Linked DNA regions of Homo sapiens: region 2 is linked to region 1. Evidence: promoter capture Hi-C in 16 types of primary human blood cells and fetal thymus (Javierre and others, 2016). All regions are on one chromosome and are shown on one strand. The core of a region is centred on a gene start or on the middle of the fragment in contact, and the rest is flanking DNA. Distances in the headings are between cores, read along the strand shown.

Region 1 (7,348 bases), core at 2,421-4,920:
CTAAGTAATCTGCTAACCAAGGAACTAAATAGCTAACAGCTCACTAAAAGCCTGTTTCTTTTCTTTTTCTTTTTCCTTTTTTTTTTTTTTTGAGACAGGGTCTCACTCTGTCGCCCAGGCTGAAGTGCGGTGGTGGCACAGTCACAGCTCACTGAAGCCTAGACTTCCCAGGGTTCAAGCAATCCTCCCGCCTCAGCCTCCCAAGGTGCAGGGATTTCAGGCATGAGCCACCACGCCTGGTGGCTTACTAACCCTTTGACTAACCTATCAAAAACCAACTAACTGATTCTCCTGTTAACCAGCTATTAACTCATTTAATTATCTAATCAACCAGCCAACCATAAACTATCCAACTAACCACGAGCCAACAATTCAACCTGCTAACCAACATTTCTTAATTCAACAAACATTGGTTGGCCAGGCATGGTGACTCATGCCTGTAATCCCAACACTTTAGGAGGCCGAGGCAGGTGGATCACTTGAGGTCAGGAGTTCAAGACCAGCCTGGCCAACATGGCAGAACCCCATTTCCACTAATAATAAAAAAAAAATTAGCTGGGCATGGTGGCAGGCACCTGTAATACCAGCTGGGGGGGGAGGGGCTGAGACATGAGAATCGCTTGAACCCAAGAAGCAGAAGTTGCAGTGAGCCGAGATCATGCCACTGCACTCCAGCATGGGCAACAGAGCAAGACTCCATCTCAAAAAAAAAAAATTTTTTTTTGTTGAGCATCTACTTATGAGTCAAGCACCAGGGATACAAAGTCAAAACCCACTCTCCACCCTTGGGTCACTCTGTTTAATGGAAGAGATGGGTAATGGCAACAACACCAGAGAGAAGCAGCCTGGGACTGGGGGAGCTCAGGGAAGGCATGGGAGGTGAGGCCTGAAGGGGGTTTTGAAGAATGGGCGGGTGGTGGCCTGACATGGCCATGGGGGAGTAGGGTGGTGGTAGAAAGAATGGTGGAAGCTGTGCACATTCTAGATATTTTAGGAGATTGGTGACTGGATGTGAGACATGGGGGAGAGGGAAGTATGAAGGACATGACCTTGACTTCTGGCTTGAGCAACTGAGGAGAAGGGGACCCCTGACTGAGCCAAGAGCACAGGAGGAGTGGACTTGCAGGGGGCGGAGGAGGCTGTTTCCATCTAGGAGCTGAGTTGCCTGTGAGACACCAGTGGGTCTCTAGAAACAGGATCTAAAGCCCTGGAGAGCGATGTAGGCTAGAGGCAATGATGTCAACAGAGTGGCACTATTCATTCTCTCCGTCCAAGTGTACAACAGGCAAATATCCCTGCTTGCGTGGAGCTGACAGCAATGAAATGTAATAAGTAAGTACATTTGTATAAGCGAAGGTACCAGCTCCTACGGAAAAAAACAGAGCAAGGAGAGGGGAATTGGGAGTGCAGGGGCTGGAGATGGGGTGTGATTTCAAATAGGGCAGCCAGAGTAATCCTTGTTGAGAAGGTGGCCTTGGAGCAAAGCCATGAAGGAGACGAGAGTGGGCTGTATGTTAGCTGCAGAAAGCCTCTCAGGTGGAGGGAGACTAGTCACCAGAGGACTCTCAGCATGTTTGAAGAAAGCAAAGAAAGTCAGTGTGAGGCCAGGTGCAGTGGCTCACACCTGTAATCCCAACCTTTTGGGAGGCCAAGGCGGGTGGATCACCTGAGGTCAGGAGTTCAAGAACAGCCTGGCGAACATGGCGAAACCCCATTTCTACTAAAAATACCAAAATAATAATAATAATAATTAGCTGGGTGTGGTAGTGTGTGCTTGTAATCCTGTAATCACAGCTACTCAGGAGGCTGAGGCAAGAGAATCGCTTGAACCCGGGAGGAGGAGGTTGCAGTGAGCCAAGATCATGCCATTGCACTCCAGCCTGGGCGACAGAACTGGATTCCATCTCGGAAAAAAAAAAAAACCTGAAAAGAAACTCAGTGTGGCTGGAGGAGGGAGAGCAGGGGGCTGGAGTGGGGAGGCCAGAAAGCTAACAAGGCTGGGCCTTGGCCATTGCAAGGACTGGCTCTTGTTCACCCCAAAGACAGCTGAGCCTGAGAGGGTGAGAGGTGCTGAGTGCAGTTGAGTTGAAGGCCACCTGCATGCCTTGACCCTCATCCAAGTATTTCTGAGCCTCCCCTCACCCCAGGACCCAGCCCAGGCAACAGGTGGAAGATGCTCTTCTTCTGGGACCTCAGAGGCGAGTGGGTGGGTGGGGAGGAGGAGGTCGAGTGGGGACAGCTGCCCCAAGGGAGAGGCTGAGGATGGAACAGGGAGGGCACTGAAGTGGGCTGGGTGAAGGACAGGGGGCTGGAGGGTGAGAAGAGGGTGGGGTACTTACCGCCTGTGCCCGGATGCTTGAACCATGTTTTGTCTTTCAGATTTGTAGATGCTGAGGAGCCAAAGAGAGGTCACTAGGGCTGGAGGACACAGAACTTGGCCCCACACTTCCATCAGACCTTGGTCCCCAGGGGAGAAGCCCTGGGGCAGCTCCTGCTAGTGCCACTCCCTTAACCCAGCCAAGGAACAGGGAGGGAGGAGCGGTGCTCAGCCAATGAGGCGACGCCCTGGAGCCCCACCCCACCCATGCTGGCCCCAGGACCCCAGCCCCAGGCCAGACCCTCCAGTGCTCCTGCTGACCTTCCGTGTCTGCAGCCCGGCTTTGGACTGTGGAGATGCCCTCAGCCTCTACTCAGTGGCTCCAGCCTCATATTTGCGTGCTATACCTTTAACCTCAAGTCCTCTTGCTGCTAACTTAAGCTGCGACTGTCCAGGACCTGCACACACACACACATGCACGCATGCACACACACACACACAGAAGGTGAACACACAGGATGAGGCCCTGAAAACTCATTTCACCCGTGTACCTCACCCAAAAATTCCCCTTTGTACTCCTATCTTTATCTCTAACTGACAGCATGAAGGTAGCCCGAAGTCCCCTCACCCTGTCTGTCCTCCTGATTCTCTAGCCCAGTTCCCTCTAGCTCCAGCACAGACTCTTATCTCCAGCCCTGACTGCCGAAACCCTCCAGCCCCAGCTCCAGCCCCTCAGGAGGGGACTGCGTGGGAGGAATGACTCCAGCAAGCCGGCAGCTGACCCGTCTCCTGCCTGCACGCCTCCCGCTGTGGTCCACTGCCGGTGGTCTTCAGCTCTCTCCTCGTCCCACCCCCATGGTCTGCTGACAGCCCAGCTCAGTGCATCCCTGCCATCTCTGCTCTACCGCTGGTCCTCCCAACAACCAACTTACAGGTAAGGAAACTGAGGCCCAGAGAGAGGGTGTATGTGCCTGTGTCACACAGCAACACAGGACTGCACCATAACAAGAAAGCCGGGACTTCCACTCCCAGACGGGGCTCCTTCCCCAAACAATCCCTCAGTCACCTCCTCCCTGTATGGTACCCAGGGAATGGCCCTTCCAGATCTGGGCGCTGAGGAGGCTGCCCCATCCCCACCCTGCCTGGAGCCCCACTCACTCTGCTGAAATGTCTCTGATTCTCAGCCTCCGCCTTGGGGGCTTCTCAGTTACAGCGCATCTTGATCTTGTTCCTCCGTGACTGTCCCTGGCTCAGCTTCCACCCCCAGCTGGGGCTCAGCTATCCCTGTGTCCCCAGTCCAGAGCCTGCCTCTCAGCTCTCCCAGGGCGGCCTCGAGCGCTGCTCCTGCTCCTCCAGGGGAGAGGTCAGTAAGGCAGGGGTTTGGCTGGTGCCACTTGAACCAAGTCCAGATGCACTGCCCAAAATAACATCCCTCGTCCGGCCAGCAGTGCCGTGGAGACCGAGTTCTGAAGCAGGCCTTTGTGAGGTCAGAGGTGGAGCTCTGGGTGGGCACTCTGGGCCTCTCAGTCCCAGAGGAAAGGCCTGTCCTCCAAGCCAATGTGCAGCCTGACTCTGGGGCCAGCGCCTGAGGAAGCCCTCCCTGAGCCCCAGCCCTGGGGAAGGCTGAAGAGGCCTCTGAGCCCCCAGCGCTGGGGAGAGCTGTGCAGAATAGGACTGGAGGTGGAAGTGTTGGAGATTAACAGCCAGGTGGAGGGGACGGGGGAGGCCCTGGGTCAGTCCTCAGGGAACCCCCATTGTGAAGGGGGAAAGGGAAACTCAGGCCCAGTCCTCAGGGGCCCCCAGTCTGAGAGGAAGGAGGACACACGAGCCATATTTGCAGAGAAACACCAGCCTGCGAGAGGAGGTAGAAGCCCAGGCCTGGCCCTCCGAGGGCCCCTAGTCTGAGGAGCAGTCCACCTGTCCTCGGGAAAACACCTCCCTTAGGAAAGGCCAGCAAGGCCCCCGTAAAGGACCCAGAGCTGGATCGGGACATCGGGCTCGGGGCTCAGCGGTGTGGGAGCTCCGGGACCGAGGTGCAGTCAGGAGAGACCCTGGGGGCCAGCAGCAGTCCCAGAGGACTTTTGGAGCCAAGGCCTGACTGGGTCTCAAACAATGGGGCAGGCAGTTTGGGGTTTCAGCAGGTGGCCCAGTGCTGAGACACAAGGGAGGTGTTTCTGGTCTGCAGACACTGAGGACGCTTGCTATGTGGCGTGGTGGACGGTGGGTAAGTCCTGGGAACTTCCGGCACCAGGCTCCATGGGTGGGAAGGGGCATAAGATTCAGTTGTCCAAAGCTCAGGTCTGGGAATGGAACTGTCCTGTAGAGGGTGCCAAAGACCAGGTCTGGAACCTGCATAGCCCCAGTCCCCACCCCTGCACACACCCTCCCACCCCTTCCAGCTTTTTCTGCAGATCTTTCTGCAGGGGTGAGGCAGGGAGAGGAAGGGGTCGGCCACAGTCCCGGGGCTTCCTAGTCAGAAGCCCTCTGTAAGGCACTAACTTCCCTCTGCAGATTCTTTTTTTTTTGAGACGGAGTCCCGCTCCGCCCAGGCTGGAGTGCAGTGGCACAGTCTTGTCTCACCACAATCTCTGCCTCCCAGTTCAAGTGATTCTCCTGCCTCAGCCTCCCAAGTAGCTGGGATTACAGGCATGCACCACCAAGCCCAGCTAGTTTTTTTGGATTTTTAGTAAAGACGGGGTGTCACCATGTTGGTCAGGCTGGTCTCGAACTCCTGACCTCAGGTAATGCACCCGCCTCGGCCTCCCAAAGTGCTGGGATTATAGGTGTGAGCCACTGCGCCCGGCCTCCCTCTGCAGATTCTACGTGGGCTCAAGATTCAGCCTTTCTTCCTCAGGAAGGGAGGGGTGCACGCTTGGAAATGGGAGAGTCCTGCCTTTTTTCCTTTCCCATGTGTGCTCCCAGGGCCGGGATGAGGTCATGTTAGAAGTGGATCTGGGGTCTTGGATGAGGTCAGCACTTGGGCAGAGTTGGAATGGGCTGGTGTCAGGTTGGTGAGGGAGGGAATTGGGATCCATGCTGGGGTCAGAGATCAGGCTCTAAGCTCTTTTACAGGGCTTGACCCTGGGGACTGAGAGGTGGAGAAGACACAGTCCCATCTGTCTCACGGCAGAGACAGGTAAGCAGCAGGTGACTTAGGACACACCAGATAGGCTGGAAGGAATACAGACGGGGCTATCCCAAGCTGGAGGGGTACAAGGGTCTTCCGTTAGAGGTGACGTGGGAACTGAGTTTTCCAAAACGAGCAGGGGGATGGGGCACCGGGGCATTTGAAGCTTGATGGGATTGTGAGAAAACCTGGGAACTGCGAGTGACTTGCAGAGGGCTGCGGAAGTGGGCAGGGATAGACCATGAAGGGCTTTGTCAGCCAGGCCAAGGAGTTCTGACTTTAACCCGAGGGCCTGAGGAGCCTGCAAAGGGTTCTAAACAAAGAGAAGAGCAACAGGGTCAACCTGAGGTCCCTGAGGCCCCAGGGCATCCAGCAGGCAGAGGCGCAGTTGGGCCTGGGCTGGGGAGAGGAGTCTAGCTGGAGAAAGAGAAGAGGAGATATCAGCCCCTGGACATTCAGCACTAGAGTTGCTGGGGCTGCCCAAGAAGCACAGGGAGTGAGGCAAGGGCCAGGGCCAGGATTCTGGGGAAGAAGGATGACGAAGAAGGAGTGGGTGTGGAAGGAGCTGGAAACCCAGACACAGGGCTGCCCAGAGGCTGATGGGAGCCAGTAGGGGGCTGTTGCCCCAGAGTTGGGTGCTGGGAGGGGCTGGCCAGGCAGGTGTTTGCAGACAGCTGCCTGGATGAGCTGGTGGGGATAGAGGGTGGCAACAGCACTGAAGAAGCAGAGGCTGAGGAGGCAGAAAGTTCAACTGCAGAGAGAAGAGAGGCAGCTAAAGGGGCCACCAAGGTGGGAGTTTGGGTCAGAGCTGTGAAGCATGTTAGTCTGCACAGAGCCTGCGGCGGGGGGTCTCTGGGTCTCTGAGCCAGTGGAGATAGTTGGGGGGCAGAGAGGGAGGGGACACCCGGGGTCCTTTCTTCATAGGATGGGCTTGAGTAGAGTTACCAGATAAAATATAAGATGCCCAGTTAAATTTAAATTTCAAAGAAACAATATTTGCCACAACCTTATACCTGGTATACCTTTGGTCTAAACTCAGGCCCTCTTGATGCTTAAACTGTGACTGTCCAGGACCTACACACACACACACACACACACACACACACACACACACACACACACACACAGAGTTTTATTTTTAGCAAATAAAAATATAGCCAGGTGCATTGGCTCACTCCTGTAATCCCAACACTTTGGGAGGCTGAGGTTGGTGGATCACCTGAGATCAGGAGTTCGAGACCAGCCTGGCCAACATGGTGAAACCCCGTCTCTACTAAGAATACAAAAATTAGCCAGGTATGGTGGCAGGTGCCTGTAATCCCAGCTACTCAAGAGGCTGAGACAGGAGAATTACTTGAACCCAGGAGGCAGAGGTTGCAGTGAGCTGAGATGGCACCACTGCACTCCACCATGGGTGATAGAGTAAGACTCTGTCTCAAAATAAATAAATATATAAAAATAAAACAAAATACTTTTTTATTTTATTTTATCTTTTGAGCCAGAGTTTCGCTGTTGTCACCCAGGCTGGAGTGCAGTGGTACAATCTTGGCTCACTGCCACCTCCACTTCCCGGATTCGAGTGATTCTCTTGCCTCAGCCTCCCGAGTAGCTGGGACTACAGGCATGAGCCACTACACCCAGCTAATTTTTGTATTTTTAGTAGAGATGGGGTTTCACCATGTTGGCTAGGCTGGTCTCAAACTTCTGATCTCAGGTGATCCACCCGCCTCGGGCTCCCAGAGTGCTGGGATTACAGGCGTGAGCCACCGCACTTGGTCTAAAATACTTTTTTCATTCAAACATTTGTTAAGAATATCTTTCTATGACAGTAGGTCCATGTCCACCTCATGCCTGTTGTACAGCATTCCACCTGATGGAGATTATATAATAAGGAATCCTTCTAT
Region 2 (7,348 bases), core at 3,442-5,941, 240 kb after region 1:
CTAAAGCCCATGCCGTGTCCCAAGTCCCTGCTCTAATCCATTGTCACAAGGGGAGGGGCACTTCAGACGCTTTGCTATTCCTAAAATTACAGGAGTAGCGCCTACCCCATCTCTACTGTATTAATTATTTATAGTAAATACAGAGAGTGTCGAGAATTGGTTCTTTAAAAAAAAACAACCACAAAAAACTAAACTTCCAAACCCCTTCTTGTGTTGAGTTGAGCACAGGTGCATGGCACTCTGTGTATGACTCTGACCAGGAAATGAGGGATTGGCTCTTCTGACCATGCAGGCAGGCACTTGTCCATTTAGAAGGGATATAAAAAGCTTCTATAAGCAGAAGAGGAGGTGCATGTGACTTGATCTCTCTAATTCTTAGTCTCACCATCTGCAAAATCAGCTGTGACAATCAGTCATCATGTAGCAATGACAAATTCTTTATATTAAGCCCTGGGGAGGGGCTAGATCTCAGCCTCTCTCTCTCTCAGAGCCTGTGTCTGTAACTTCAGAGAGACTTCATCGCTGCCATGGGCAGCTGTGTCCTCTGCTATGTGACCCTGTGTCTCCTGGGAGCAGGTGAGCTCAGCACACATCCAGTTGGTCAATTCCTATCCTGGGCTTGCCAGGCCCCTCCCCGGCCAGCACCTCCCTTCTGGGCATGATCTCTAGCCTTTGTCTCTTGGACCCTTGGATGCTGACATCTATCAGACGCCATTCCAGCTCACTGGGGCTGGATGGGATGTGACCCTGGAGTAGAAACAATTTGAGACACAATGACATGTACTGGTACTGGTACTGGCAGGACCCAAAGCAAAATCTGAGACTGATCTATTACTCAAGGGTTGAAAAGGATATTCAGAGAGGAGACCTAACTGAAGGCTACGGTGTCTCCCGAGAGGAGAAGGGGCTGTTTCTTCTCATGGTGAAGCTGGCCCACACCAGCCAAACAGCTCTGTACTTCTGTCCTGGGAGTGCACCACAGTGGAAGCACAGCCATTGTCTCTCTGTGCGGAAATGTGTCCTAGCCCTGTAGTCCCCACCACATCCTCTAGTTTAATTTTTTCATTTTTAATATTTTCTTGAGATTTTCCTATGTCCTGTTACTTTTGCAAACACAAAGGATACAAAACTGAAAAGAAAATAGATCCTTTATCCAAGGAGCTAAGAGTCTAGCAAGAAAGTAATTATAATAGAACGGAAAATATCATATATAATACTACAATCAGAAGTCATTTGGGAGCTTCAGGGAGGACATGCACAATTCTGTTTGATTGAATGAGAAAAAGCAAAGAGGAAGTCCCATTAGAACCTCACCAGATAGACCTGGTTCTGAGTAGAGCATTCCAGGCAAAGAGAACAACTTTTGCAAAGGCATATTAAAGAGTTTGACACTTTGGGGAACAGTTTACAAAGAGAAAGATGATGATCAATGTATATGAATCAAAAGAAATGGAATATATCTGAGGAAGTAGAAAGGAGTTTTTGAAAAAGTTGAGTTTTTGGTTCCATGAATATAATAAGTATGAAAGTCCTTTGTAGGCTGTTGCTCAAAAGAGAGAGCTGAAGCTTGTTATCAGCAAACAAGCAAATGATACAATTTTTCAATTTTCCTCATATAACTTTGATCATTTACAAAGGGCACAATTTCAAACAATATGAAATCACGTTAGCAGTAGCAGTTCCCATTTGGGATAATAGGGTTCAACTGTCTATGGAACAATCAGATAAAAACTAGAAGTACGCAACTGCATAGACAAGATGTGAAATTGAGATGCCATAAAGCTGGACTAGAGGTTGAGATTCTGCAGATTACAGCATGTCAATAATTGAACTGTGGGGACAGAAAATTCCACCCAAATATAGATTTAGATCACAGAGATAAAATGCATGGGAATTAAGACTGTAGTATTCTGGTTCCTTATGGAGAATAAAGAAGCCTGAGAGTGAGGAGTGATTAGAACATGGGATGTAAAAACAAAAGAGGGAAAGAGAGAGAGTGAGAGTTTTGTTTTGTCTGATATTTCTAAGAAAATTAGGGAAAAAAATAAAGGTAACCCAGGCAGAAGAAGCCACAAACACTTCTTGGGTAACAGGGAATAGTCGGTAAAATGTTATATGTTAGTTTACTGAGGTGAACAGAACCTTTTCCATTGAGGTTCCATTTGGAAAGACATAAGACTTAGCTAAGATTCCAAGAAATCACCAAAGTAGGAAATGAAAAACCTCCATGAATGAAGTTGCATGAGTCTGCCTACCAGTGGATAAAGGATAGGATAAAAGAATAGCTGCAAAGGATAAAAGAATAGCTGAGGCACTGAAGTAGAAGCTCCAAGTGAGAGGACTAAATCTAACAGACATGAAGAATTATTATAAGAGAATTATTATAAAACCACAATAATAAAAGTGGTATAATATAGGGGCATTGATATATAAATAGATCCAAGGAAAAAAATACATGTGCATAAACACACAGCAATGGTACTGCAATAATCAAAGAATACATTTTTCAACAAATGGTGATGGGAAAATTGGGTATCTATATAAAGGAAAACAAGTGCAATTGGACACATCTCAATACATAGCCAAAATCAATCCCAGCTATATTAAAAGCATAATTGTAATAAAATCACAAGGCTTCTAGAATACTGTATAATATAAAAGGACATCTTCATGGCCTTAAAGCAGGGAAAGATTTCTTATTCCCTCAATCAGTAGGGAACCGATTGATAAAAATGGCTATATAAAAACTGATATTGAATTTATCAAAGTTAATTATATAAGAGTGACAAGATTGACTGTATAGTGACATATCATTAAATATCTATATATTTATACCAAATTAATATCCCTATCTATATTTATATATTCAAGAAAAGCTAGTATATATAATTTATTTTTTAAAAACCTAGAAACTAATTTTTCTCCAGATCAATGAGAAAAAGGTAACTGTCAATAGAAAAAGTGAGTGAAAACCATAAGCTCCCAGCAAAATCTCACTGGTCATTAAACATGTAAATGTTGCTAAATTTAATAATCAGGGAAATGGAAATTGAGTCCAACGAAATATATACCCACAAGAATCTCTACGATGGTAAAAATAGTAATCTATCAAGTGTTGGCAAGGCAAAAGTGTCAACAAGAATTCTCTGAATCACTGGCTAGAGTGTATATTGGTAGATCTAAGTTGGAAAACAATTTGGCATTACCTAGTAAAGTTCAAGATGTGTGTACCCACTGTCCATCAATTCCACCCTTGAGAAAGGCTTTTCTAGAGAAACACTTCTGTGAAAATCAGGACAAGGATATTCACTGTAATACATCTGTAATAGCAAAAATGCATACAATATCCAAATGTAACTTAACAGAAGAGTAAATAAATTATGGTTTATTATTATAAAGAAATTACACAGCAGTAAAAATTCATGAACTAAAACTAAACACACAAACATGACTGAATTTCACAAATTTGAAGAAAAATTACATTACAGAAGAAAGGTACAGTATTGTCTCATTTGTATAAAGTTTGGAAGCATGTAAAACTAAACACTTTTGTTTGCTTATGTACCTATGTGTTAAAATATGAAAGAGAAGCAAATAAATATAAAAGCAAACACCTCAGTAGAGTTAGAGAACAGAGGCATGGGATCTGGGAAAAGAAATGAGTGCTTTCAAATATTCTGGTAATATTTTATTTCCTGTGCCAAGTTGTTTTTTTAAGTGGTCATTTTGTTGGTATGTTATCAAGTTATTGTCTATATATTCAAAGACAATCTTGTAATGTGGAGGAAACAACCTCACTGAACAATTAAATAAGTAAGGAGAAATCTATGGAAAGATATACATTAAACTGTTAACATTACTTACCTGAAATGAGGATGAGATGGAGGAAGAAAAAAGTAAAAAAATAAATAAATCACCAAAAATGCACTATTTAAAATAAATAGTTACAGAAAGAAAAGCAAAAAAGGGAGGTTATCTAAAAGAAACACTAGTAAATGAACAAGCTAAAATACACCAAAAAGAGCTAAAAGGTGAAGTATTTTTCAAAGCAGTGGCTAGTTTCAGAATCATAAAAATAGCAATTACAATAGAGATCTATATTATACTAAAAGATAATTAGATAATTAATAGCCAGAAGAAATGTCTAGTCGTGAGTTAGAAACTGATGCTCAAATTAATGGCAAAGGACATTTTTGAAACAACTGTAAAACTCTGCATAAAAACTAAATAGCAGATAAGATGAAACTGCATTGATGAGAAAGGATGATGATCATTAACTGAAAAAAAAAGCTTATCAAACAGAATTTCAAGAATATTGTTTATAATAAAAAATAATGTGTCTATATATCTACACATTTATATATGGGGAGAGAAGGATCTAGAAAGACTCTCACTAATGTGTTAACAGTGATAATTGCTTTCTGGCAGTGGTATATTTTTATTTTGTTATTTTATTTTCTAACTTTCTAAAATATCAGTGCTTTGCTTATATTAGCAAAAATAGACATACAATATTTTAAATGAATACAAAATAACTTAGTTATATTTACTGAGTTAGGAATAAAAGCTTTTTTTCCCGATACCATGAAGTGTTTTTGCTCAGAAACATGAAGCAGTAACAAGATGATTATGAATCTGTGGAGCAATCACGTCACAAGAAGGTGCAGACGGGGATGAAAAAGCCTCATCCCTTTGCGACGTCAATGCGACCACGGGCACCAGGCTTCTCGGCTGGGTAGCTCTTTGTCTCCTGGCAGCAGGTGAGCTCTGAGCACAGAATAAAAACCCTTGTCCTGGGCTGGCCAACCCCCAGATCCAAGCTTTGCTGTTGTTGTTAAGGTCTTTCCTGGACTCTGTCTACAGCATCTGTTTCTTTCTCTTACAGGCTGTTTTCATGCCAAAGTCACACAGACTCCAGGATATTTGGTCAAAGGAAAAGGAAGGAAAACAAAGATGTATTGTACCCCCAAAAACGGACATACTTTTGTTTGTTGGTATCAGCAGAATCAGAATAAAGAGTTTATGTTTTTGATTTCCTTTCAGAATGAACAAGTTCTTCAAGAAATGGAGATGCACAAGAAGCGATTCTCATCTCAATGCCCCAAGAACCCACCCTGCAGCCTGGCAATCCTGTCCTCGGAACCGGGAGACACCGCACTGTATCTCTGTGCCACCAGTCCGTCCACAGCACTGAAATGTCAGTTCCTGTTAGCACACAAACTTGCCACAGACCCAGCTCAGGAAGCAGGTGATGTATTAGGTTGGAAGGGAGTAACAGAAAATAACTGGAGCCAGCTTAAGCCACAGTGGAATTTAACACAAGGATAAAGGGTGTTTAGCAGAAGTCAAGAGGTGATGGACAGACAGTTCTGAAAAGGACAGACAGTTCTGAAAAGGCACCACTAGGGCCAGGCTCTAGAATGACTATCTCTCCAGCTCTGATTTTTATTCAGTTTTGCAGCTGCATGCTTTTCTCTCCCTGTACACCATCCCTTTTTCTCCAGGCCTCGTGGTGAGAATGAGATGGTCACTAAAGATTACAAATTCAGTTGCCATAATTTCCCTACAGTGACAAATACCACCCCAGCTCTTTCTAAGCCTGAGTTCAAAATCCCAGGAGAAAAAAACAGATCCGTCATGATCCAGCCATGAACCTTCTCATAGAGCACTCAGCAGTAGGCATGTATGTATGTATTTAAAATCACATAAACGTTACTTTTCCACTCAGCTCAAGCAAGGGAAATGCTCTGTTTTTCAGTATGTACATTCGGTCTGTTGGTTCTGTATGATAGAGAGTACTCATACCCATTTCTTCAGAAATACATACCCAGATTTTCTCTGGTTTCCGGCCAGAATTGAAAATTATTGTACAAATACCTTCATAGACTTGTATGATTGCTTTATAGGATTATATACCAAGAACAAGTTGTGATTGCTGAGACATGTAATTCTATGCATATTTTATCTATCTAAATGCCACCACAGGTTCTTCAGGATCACCGTATACATCTGCAATCCCACATAAAAGTGAATAGGGTGTTTTCCTACATCCTAATACCTCCTTTAATCCTTATCCAGTGATCTAGATTGTTATCAGTATAGCGATGTAAAGAGGTTCCAATCTCCCTCTCTCTCCATCCCCTCAGCCCTGCTCACCCAACACCAGAATATCATCAGTGTTTACCATAAAGAAACAGGTGACAATTCTTTTAAAACTAAATAAAACCAATAATTTAAAGGAACTGAGAGATTACTTTATACTACTATAATAATAGGTGGCAACAATCTAGAAAGCTGAATAATGTTCTCTCCCTCCTTTTCTTTCCCTTGCATTTTTCTAACTACTAATGAATTTGAGCACTTCTTCATGTGATAGTGGTCCTGGATTTCTGTTCTCAAAATGGCCTATCCATATCCTCAGGCAAAATTCTCTATTGAGAGTTCTATATTTTCCTCAACAATTTGTAGGAAGTCCTAAGATATACAAGATATTAGTCTCCTTTTTGAAATTTTAGGCACTGGAAATACCACCACCCAATATGGCACCACCCCTGTCCCAGACTTCAAAGAATTAGTAGATGTGGGAGGAGCCAGGTGGTCTCTTACCTTAGTAGGTGCATGCGTGTTATCTCCATTATGTGAATGAGACTTCTATCTTTCACTTCCACTCTGCTGAGTGCTCAACATGCTGTCTCTTCCATTATTACTCATGTCTTTAAGCAGCATAGAAAAGTTACCAGCCATGGCTGTCCCCAAACTACTGTCACCCATCGACATCCCTTTCCATCCAGAACTGCTGAAAAAAATGCTTCACTTCATTTAGCTGTGCTTTTTTACAATCTGGGGTAAATCTGATTCAAATTAATTTTCATTGCTCTAAGTAGATTATGCTGTCTGATTATAGCAAAGGACAGAAAAACTTCACACATCTTTTTGGAAGACTTAATACTTGCCCACACATTATCTCTTTTAGGGCCAAATTCCATCCACTGCAAACACCAATCTCCTTGAGCTCTTGATATGACAGCTGATCCATTTTGATTCCGCAAATGCTTGCAAAGCAACTCCCATTCACTGAGACATATAGGCACTGAGAAACTTTCAGCTACACTACATTGAATTTTGATTTCTGGGGAAAGGGAGAAGAGTAAAAAGAACCATAAAAATGTATTTCAAGTAATGTGTATAAGGATGACAAAATATAGATTACTTTCATGAAAAACATTAGAACATTATATTCTCTTTGGGAGTGATTTATCATTGGATAAATTAAAACAAATTCCTGAGGAAGTCTGGGAAAAAATAAATTTAGGAAAACAAATTTTAAATGATATCCTGAAAACCATCA

The links. Contacts are between HindIII fragments. The CHiCAGO score rates a contact against its expected background, and 5 or more counts as called.
Region 2: a contact is called between a fragment that was not itself captured here and the fragment with the promoter of AQP7 in region 1, in 1 of 17 cell types (erythroblasts). The highest score is 5.1, in erythroblasts.

The regions. Positions count from the first base shown.
Region 1 is chr9:33,398,898-33,406,245 of GRCh38, forward strand. AQP7 (aquaporin 7) reads right to left here and starts at 3,671. Exons shown (of 8, transcript NM_001170.3): 1 at 3,476-3,671; 2 at 2,340-2,390. The coding sequence starts at 2,365. It overlaps LOC105376020 (a long non-coding RNA gene), which reads left to right and starts at 2,624. Exons shown (of 3, transcript NR_188543.1): 1 at 2,624-2,925; 2 at 3,011-3,251. RefSeq lists a silencer at 2,594-2,888 and an enhancer at 5,439-5,996. The HindIII fragment of the contact is 7,387 bases long and covers 1-5,608 here.
Region 2 is chr9:33,633,326-33,640,673 of GRCh38, forward strand. It overlaps the pseudogene TRBV22OR9-2 and the pseudogene TRBV23OR9-2. Among named protein-coding and RNA genes, the nearest start is that of PTENP1-AS, 40 kb to the right of the region's middle. The HindIII fragment of the contact is 253 bases long and covers 4,566-4,818 here.